2 separate regions of the Homo sapiens genome follow, and region 2 is linked to region 1. Evidence: promoter capture Hi-C in 16 types of primary human blood cells and fetal thymus (Javierre and others, 2016). All regions are on one chromosome and are shown on one strand. The core of a region is centred on a gene start or on the middle of the fragment in contact, and the rest is flanking DNA. Distances in the headings are between cores, read along the strand shown. Region 1 holds the start of GUF1 (GTP binding elongation factor GUF1). Region 2 holds the start of CHIC2 (cysteine rich hydrophobic domain 2).

What was found. Contacts are between HindIII fragments. The CHiCAGO score rates a contact against its expected background, and 5 or more counts as called.
Region 2: the fragment with the promoter of CHIC2 here is called in contact with the fragment with the promoter of GUF1 in region 1 in 1 of 17 cell types (total CD4 T cells); the score reaches 9.4 in total CD4 T cells.

Annotation. Positions count from the first base shown.
Region 1 is chr4:44,676,160-44,680,357 of GRCh38, reverse strand. It overlaps GUF1 (GTP binding elongation factor GUF1), which reads right to left and starts at 1,938. Exons shown (of 17, transcript NM_021927.3): 1 at 1,571-1,938. The coding sequence starts at 1,735. RefSeq lists a silencer at 1,600-1,759 and an enhancer at 1,831-2,719. The HindIII fragment of the contact is 9,672 bases long and covers 1-4,198 here.
Region 2 is chr4:54,062,871-54,067,068 of GRCh38, reverse strand. CHIC2 (cysteine rich hydrophobic domain 2) reads left to right here and starts at 2,464. Exons shown (of 6, transcript NM_012110.4): 1 at 2,464-2,887. The coding sequence starts at 2,769. RefSeq lists enhancers at 1-559, 2,556-3,056 and silencers at 2,157-2,396, 2,627-2,756. The HindIII fragment of the contact is 3,181 bases long and covers 460-3,640 here.

The DNA.
Region 1 (4,198 bases), core at 689-3,188:
ATCGTTGAACAATATCATTTCTAGCATTTATATTGTTTATATTATTATTCTAAGAAAAAGACATGTATGGCTAAGTTCATATTACAAGGAACATCAGTTTAATAGCCAAAGGTAACTATACAGCTAAATCATAATCCCTTAACATTTCTACACAATTTTTAGGGCCAATCAGGAACTGAATTTATTATCGTGAATGGAGAACATGAGACACCTAGAACTTCTAAAGGCCTGAGAATACCTTGTCTAGTAAAACTTTTGAGGCAATGGAGCTACAGAAAAGCTGAAAGAAGATAAATTTTCTGCTCCTATCACACATTTAATCAGGAATCAGATTTATTTAAAAATCTGTGTCTCTAATGGAGCCTCAAAATTTTATTTTAAATACAATTTTGCTACTTTGCAGCTTCTCTGGTGAGAAAGAAAAAAAGATGACATCCAACAAAAGACTTATCACTTAAAACTTAAAAATATTTTAAAATGGAACTCCTGGTTTTTCGTGTACACATCTTCTTTAACGTTTTACTGAAACACATCACAAATTGCTAGAAATTGTTATCAAGCAAAATATACCAGTTTTTTGTACTCTATTTTTTTCCAATCAACTGCATATTTCACAATCAGCAAAACCATGAAATTACAATGAAATATAAAATTCACGTGAGCTTTGTTTTTTAATAGCCCCATAAAGACAGATAATAAAAGCACAATTATAGCTGAAAGTCTGCCGAAAAAAAACTAATTCTGATGTTTGCCCTGTAGATTTTCTTTCCCTTCAGTTCAAAAGGTATAGAGAATTGCACCATCTTTATACTTCGAATTGCAATATAAATCCATTTTTAAAAACACAGGCATATTAGGGCCAAAGTTGATTAATTTAAGGTTTTGTCTTTCTGCCTACTTATAGCTTGCCTTCAGTCACTTCACTTTTCTGACTAAAATGTATCCATTCACAATTATCAGAGTTGTTGAACCTCCCACCCTCTCCCACCAGAGTCAAAATTACACAGGTTTGCTCTGGCTGAGGTAGAATGAAATAAAACTACAAAGACAGACCGAGAACTTCCTGCATTCTAGGTATTAGTCTAAAAAAGTCCACTTCTCACATCACACAAATCTCACAAATTAGCCACTGGATGTTTGATCAGTTCTGCATTCAACAAATGAAGTAGGAGAGTGACAATGTAGTAACTTGCCCAGGCCACATAGCTACTTAATTTGCAGGAAAATGGACGTTATATTAATATTTACTAGCAACTTGCTTAGTAGGCTTTTTAGAATTAAATAGATGAATAAACGCAAAGCACTTCGACCAGTGGCTCGCGTAAACAAATCAACATTTGACATTGAAAATGAGAAAACCTACAAAGTTAGTGACTTGCCCAAGGTCACACTAGTGAGGAGTGGAGGGTCGGGAACCTGAGCAGTGCTCACACTCTCCGCTCTGCCTCCCTGTACCAAGTTGCAAGCAGGGTTCAGAGCTAGTCCCAGAAAGCCCTATACATGTCCAAGATCGCATGGGGCACTCCAACGTTTGAAAACTTGGCTAAATCAGATTCCAGGGGGCAGTCACCTTGAATTCTGCGGAGCTGTAGAGCCTGTCGGTAGCCCAGGACTCTGGAGCAGCCCCAAGGGTCGGCGCGGACCGGGGCCCCGGGGCCACCAGAAGCGCGGCCCCAGTGGCTCGTGGCGCGAGAGCGCGTGCGCACCCCCAGCCCCGACCCACGAGGGTCCACATGACCCGGGCGGCGGAGGCGTCAGGAGAGGGTACCCACACGCAACAGCAGCATAGCCCGTTTTTTTTCGAAGGTACCCCCCGTAGGATCCGGTGGACAGGACTCAAACAGATCCTGTGAAGCGAAGACAATGAACCCCGGGGAGCTCTGCCCAAGTACCAGATCCGGAAGCAACCCGAAGCGGCGGCGCAGCTTGCCGACGTCTGCACGCCGCACGCTGTCGTGACATCAGCGCGTCTTGGCGCCGGGTAGTGGAGTGGTCACGTGAGTGGAGGCTTTCGATTGACTCCCTAAAACGCAGGGTGTAGACAGAGTACATATTAGCTTATATTGTCTGCTGAGTGCTGTGCCAATTCCTTTGCATTGTCTCTTTCTTACTACTGCCCTGTGGTGTGTGTACTGTCAGTTCCCCCAAACTACCTCTGGAAATCCGGACCGAGTGACTTGCCCAGGAGCTCACAGGTGGGGAGCTGTGGAGCCTGGAGTGCCGCCCAGGCAGTCTGATTCCCGAACCAGGAGCCGAGGTCTTAGTCCAGGGACTTAAAGATGCTATTATTAGCACAACGTTGAGACTTAGCCTTCTACCTAATGGCAAAATAATAATGGCACTTTTAAAATCTGGAGGTCGAAATGTATTCCCCATGTTGTCAGTGACAGAGCTAATCTTGAAGTGCATCTGAAAGGAAACGGGCCATAACATTGATTGCAATACTGAATCCAGGAAGGTTTTGGCAAGAAGTAAAGGTGGGAAAAAGTTCCATGCTGGACCCCCAATGTTTCCATCGTCATCAAGTTACCACTTCATGGAATGAGCTCTGACGAAGTAAGAATGGGGGATAAAACAGGTGATAGGAGGATTGCATCCAGTGTTTGTCTCCCACTATTTCTCTTGCGCTTTTCTGGAATATCCAGAATTTGGTGCGAAGGAGGGAGATGACAGCTGTGTTCAGTTCATCATTGTGACTGAAGACAGAATCATTCGTATTGTTTCCAGAGCCTTTGAAAGTTTCTTCATTTGGAGGATTTCTTAGGATCAAGAATTCTGTACCAGACTCAGTTCTTTCTTGGATTTTTTTTTCCCCCCTGAGATGGTGTCTCGCTCTGTCGCCCAGGCTGGAGTACAGTAGCGCTATCTCGGCTCACTGCAACCTCCGCCTCCTGGGCTCAAGCGATTCTCCTGCCTCAGTCTCCTGAGTAGCTGGGATTACAGGCGCGCGCCAGCAATCATGGCTAATTTTTGTATTTTTAGTAGAGACGGGGTTTCACCATGTTGGTCACGCTGATCTCGAACTCCTGACCTCGTGATCTGCCCACCTCGGCCTCCCAAAGTGTTGCGATTACAGGCGTGAGCCACCGCGCCTGGCCCTTTCTTGGAACTTTTATGAATTAAAACAGTACTTGATAGACGACTAATTCTGTCACACTTGTAAGAGAATGAATTTAACAACTATCTTGAAGTAAACACAATAATTTATATTCAATGTTGCCCAGACTTCCATAATTTGCACAATTACCCTCATTAATTTTCACCATATCCTGTCAAAGATAAAGGCAGACACCAGTTAAAGTGGTGAAGACAGATTTTTATTATAGTGATATACTAATGCAATCGGGAATAAGATCCAGAATGAACTAAACTACAATTTGTCCAGAGGCGACTGTATTTTAAAAGGAGAATGCGGGAGTAGGGAAAGAGAACAACTGGGCTTGATCAAAGTCAGGGAAACGGAAATTTACAAAAAACAATGGCGGAAGAATGGTCCATTTGAAATCCATCTGGGTTGTAAACTGTTGCTTATGGAAATAAGGCTCCTACCCTTCCCGCAGACACTAGGAAATGAGTGCTACTTTCACATGTTGGCTGGAACAAATAAATTATTTTGTCAGTCTTGAGCTTTCTCAGACAGAAATTTAAGGGGGCTTCATCTTAGAGATGCAGCCTTGAGCTGTTATAAACTATATGAGTTTGTTCAAGTCTTTTAATGTGTGGGCAAACCGGTAGGGGAAGGATGTGGATGAAATCATTTGTGCTGAGGGTCTGTAGTTTTTATAGGCAAGTTTGAGGCTTTGCTGATAAGAGGGCTTAGAAGAGTCAGGCTAGAGTTTGGTCAAGAATCTTTGTCAATCCTCATACCGATATTATGTACTTTATATTTTTCTTTAACTTACCTTTATATGTAAATGAATTCTTTTTAAAAGAAAACGTAGATACCATTAATGGAGAAAGCATGATGAGCTGTCATAAGAGTAACAGTAAATATAACTGTAGTGAATAAAAAATGTGATTCAATTGTAGGTTTGGTCTGTCTGGATTACAAAAGGGAGATTAGCAGATATTAGAAAAGAATTTAAAAATATTAGCCTCAAACTGAGATTTTTCTCTTTGACCTAGCAAGAAGCATTTAAATAGGGTTGAAAGAAAAACTTTATCTGAATAACACAGTATCCTTGATACCATGTCTGTA
Region 2 (4,198 bases), core at 1,215-3,714, 9.4 Mb before region 1:
ATTCAGATAACATTTATTAAGCTCCTTTTCTGAAGCAGGAACTGTGGAAGGTGCTGGAGTTCTAAGGAGCTCTGTGTGGCTTCCTCCGTCTTTGGGAAGTTGTCAGCTATGTGATGATTTAGATACTTTGGGGCACTAGCCCCTTATCTTGGCCACTGTTTCTACATAAGGGTGAATTCTCAGCCACAGCCAGGTGTGGGCTGTGCCAGGACATACTGACCTTATTTCCTCTTATTCTCTTTCTTATCTTCCCATTTGCAGCTGTTCCTTTAACTGAGTGCAGCCACTAGTCTCCTGGTTCCTGCCAAGGAGGAAATTCAGAGGCTGAGGAGGGAGGATCGCTTGAGCTGAGGAGTTCAAGGCTGCAGTGAGCTATGATGGTGCCACTGCACACCAGCCTAGGTGAGAGAGTGAGACTCTGTCTTAAAAAAAAAAAAAAAAAAGACATTCAGGAAAGCTTGGACCACCAGTATACTCAATTAGACCATTAAATCTTAAATCGTCACATGGCCTTGAGAAAGCCACATAGCATCTCTGAAATATAGCATATCATAGCATCTCTGAAACATAGCATATCTGAAAATAAATACACCCTCTTTGCTTACCTCACAGGTTCTTGGGGGAATATTAAATGATATATTATGTACGTGCTTTATAAGCAGTAAAATATTACATAATGCTGTGGTAACCCTCACAGGGTTGATAAGCTAGGGAGCCTTAAGCATCACCTATTACCCCGTATTTATTGTGTACTGGGCCTTCTTCTAGGCACTTCACCGATCTTAAGCCCTTGAATCTGCTGAGCATCCCAATGGGGCAGGTACTGAACAGGGAAGTTAAGTGGCTTGTCTAGGGTCACACAGTAAGTGGCAGAGCTGACATTCAAGGCCAGGTAGTCAGGTTCCAGAACACACATTGTTAAACACCAGACCAAGCTGCCTCCTGTGTGCCCCACTGACACTTCCTGTGTCCTCCTCCATGAGCCCCTGGCAGAGATGACAATTGCTTGCCTTAACAATAGATAAGCTACCAGAAGTCAGGGCCTGTGCCTCATTCACACACGTCCACAGTGCCTGCCACATAGCTAGAGTTCAGTAGATATTTGTTGAATGAACAAATACCCTCCAGGGAGGGATACAATAAGTCTGATACAACTACTGTATTTTTCCTTCATTTTTTCTTGGCTAACCACACTCATTTCCTTCAGTTGTTTCCAAAAGGAGGTTGGCATCTCTCACTGTCCTCATTGACCTCCTTTGCACTTTCTCCACGTCAACAGTGACCCATCTAAAGCCGACTACTGTGACATGAACACTGCACTTGAAGAGCCTGACCAGCGCTGGGCTCAGTAGAACTATCCTTTCTTCTCCCATGGTGTATCCTCACTGTCCAGGACTCTCTTCTCAGAAGCCCACTCCTTCCCCTGTGCTGTTTATATGCTTAATGAAACCAAGTACCCAAAGTGACCGTTCAACTGTTACTAGGCAGCTAAGTAGACTCCATTAAACCTTTTCCTTCCTTCCTCCCCTTCTTTCTTTCTCTCCCATTCTTCTTTCATTCTTCTCGTCCTTCCTTCTATCCTTTCTTCCTTCCTGCCTCCTTTTCTTCCTCTCCTCTGCCCTTTCTTTCAGGTCTTTTTTGTGGTAGGAACTGGTAAGAAAAGGAAAGGAATTCCCTAAGATTTTAAGGAAACAACAACAAAAACCAGGTTATGTTTGGTGAGAGAGTTGGGGCAAGAAACTGCATCTTCTAATATGGAATCCAGGTAATTTATCAGTTTTTTTTCATAGCATGACTACGGTGAGATTTCTTGTAAGAAAAAAAAAAAAATACCAGCATCGCTGGCCTCATATATTGGATTATACTTAAGGGGATCAAGGGATAAGATGTTTGAATTTGGAGATGTCTTGAAAAATCCTGTGGTGAGCACAAATGTTTGCAGTGTCTCTGCTGGACTCCTCAAATTGGGAAAAAAGAGACTCTGGTTCTCATCATAGACTCAAAACCTGAGGAAAAGCGAGATGCGATTATTAGATAAACTGGCAATGACACGCACAAAAATGTGTCTATTCCAGCCAGGGCTTTTCTTTTCAGTTGTTTGTTTTGGTTAGAGATGACTTTGGGGAACTGCATGTCCCACTGGACATTCCAAGCTGCGTTGTCGGAGTCGCGGGTCGCGGCCTCCAGTCAGCGGAGCCGCCGCCCCCAGGGTCCGCCACCCAGAAGTCGGCGGAGGGGGGCCCGCCGGCGGGAGCGCGCGCCCCGGTCGCCGTCTGCGGGTAGAAGCAGAGGAAAGACGGTGGCCTGGGAGCGCGCGAGGCCGCACGTGCGCGCGCCCGCCCGCCCGCCAGCCAGTCCGCTCGCCCACGCGCCCACGCACGCGCCCGCCCGCCCGTTGGCCCGGGAAGTCTCGCGATGCCGTAGCCGGCTGCTCCCGCTGCGGGTGGCTCGGGCTGTTGCTGTGGTTTCCTGAGTTGCTGCTGCTGCGGCGGCGGCAGCGGCGTCTGTGCTTGTGGAGGTGTCGGCCTCTGGGCGGATGTTGACATTGTGTTGTTGTTATTGCTGATGGTAATGGCGGCGGCGGTGGCGGCGACGGTCCAGACCCCATCCCCTCTGTAGCCGGAGCCGAGACAGCCGACAGCGAACTCCGCGGCCTCGGAGCCGGCGGCAGCGGCGACTCCCCTCAGCCTCCGCCGCCTCGCCCGCCGGTACCCCGGCGCCAACCCCGGGAGTCAGGCCCTTTGGGCAGGGGAGCTCGGAGGCTCAGGATGGCGGATTTCGACGAAATCTATGAGGAAGAGGAGGACGAGGAGCGGGCCCTGGAGGAGCAGCTGCTCAAGTACTCGCCGGACCCGGTGGTCGTCCGCGGCTCCGGTCACGTCACCGTGTAAGGCCCGGAGGAGGGCGAGGGCGGGAGGTGCGGGCTGGGGTGGGCCCCGTTACTCCACGGGAGCCCCGTTTCCCCTGTGTCCGTCTGGTGTCGGGGGCCTTCCGAAAGAGTAGGCAACCAGGAAGTGAGAACTTGGCTTATTTTCATTTGTTTGGGTCTCCGAAGTGGGGACGGACGCTGTCCTTCCTCCTCCACACACCCCTTTAGCAGGCCCTACAGGCCCGGGCGATGTGACGATCCCAGTAGGCACGGGTTTTCATTAGGGTCTGCCCTGCGGGCCACCCTTCCTCTTCAGGGTGGAAGTACGTGTATTGACAGGGAGCCTCCTTGTTTTCTCGCCCAGTTACCCTGTGGTTGTCTGTGCCTTTGCACCCAGTGACATGGCTCAGAGGCCAGATCTGGGCCGTGTGAGACCCCAGTGACAATTGGCAGCGAAGCTCCGTTTCGTGTCTATTTCACACATACCCACAGGTCTCCCAGTTTTTCCACTAATTTCCGCAGAACTAATGCAAGTTCTTGTAATTGTACGTGATAAAAATATATAGTTGAACACAAATTTAAGATATACAGAAAGAAATATGTTTACAACAACAACAACAACAACTACGTGAGGGACATACACTCTGCTCAGGTTACTGAGGGAAAATTGTAGTCCTGAAGCTCCTCCTTGGGGCACGAACTTGGGGCTTGTTAATTTGGAAAGTCCCACTAGTAACATTAAAAGTCTGATATTAATAAGGAATGAAAGCTTTCGGAAAGACCATGACAAAGGAATGTGAAGCCTTGAACCAAATAATGAGCTGTCCGGAAGCAGGAAGTTTTGTAATGTTTCACTATGAAGTCCACAGTTTTGTACCACTTGATGTATTACATTGATACTCTCTCATTTTAGATCTCTTGTTCAAATAATAGATCAGACTTCCATACTTGTCAGGTATCTCTGTACTTCTTCACCTTTTCAGTGAAACAAAAGAGCCAGCAAGTCTGAGAATGTCTGGAATAGTCTTCATTATATTTTGGTGAAGAGTGAGTGGGATGTGCTGTGAATAACTTAGGGAAACAGTAAGACTTCTCATATAAGTTTGTCAGCAAAATAATTGCATTTCTCGTATGACCAGCCATATTGTTGTTTGAGTATGCTTATGTAATGCTTTAATTTCTTTAGTACCTGTTAGTTTATGTTCAGGTGACTTAACAGGGTAAAAACACTGCATAATTGCCATCACAGCACCATGACAAGACAGTGGAATTTAATTCACCACAATAATACTTTCTAAGTGTTGTCACCAGCTTAAGAAGTATAACCAA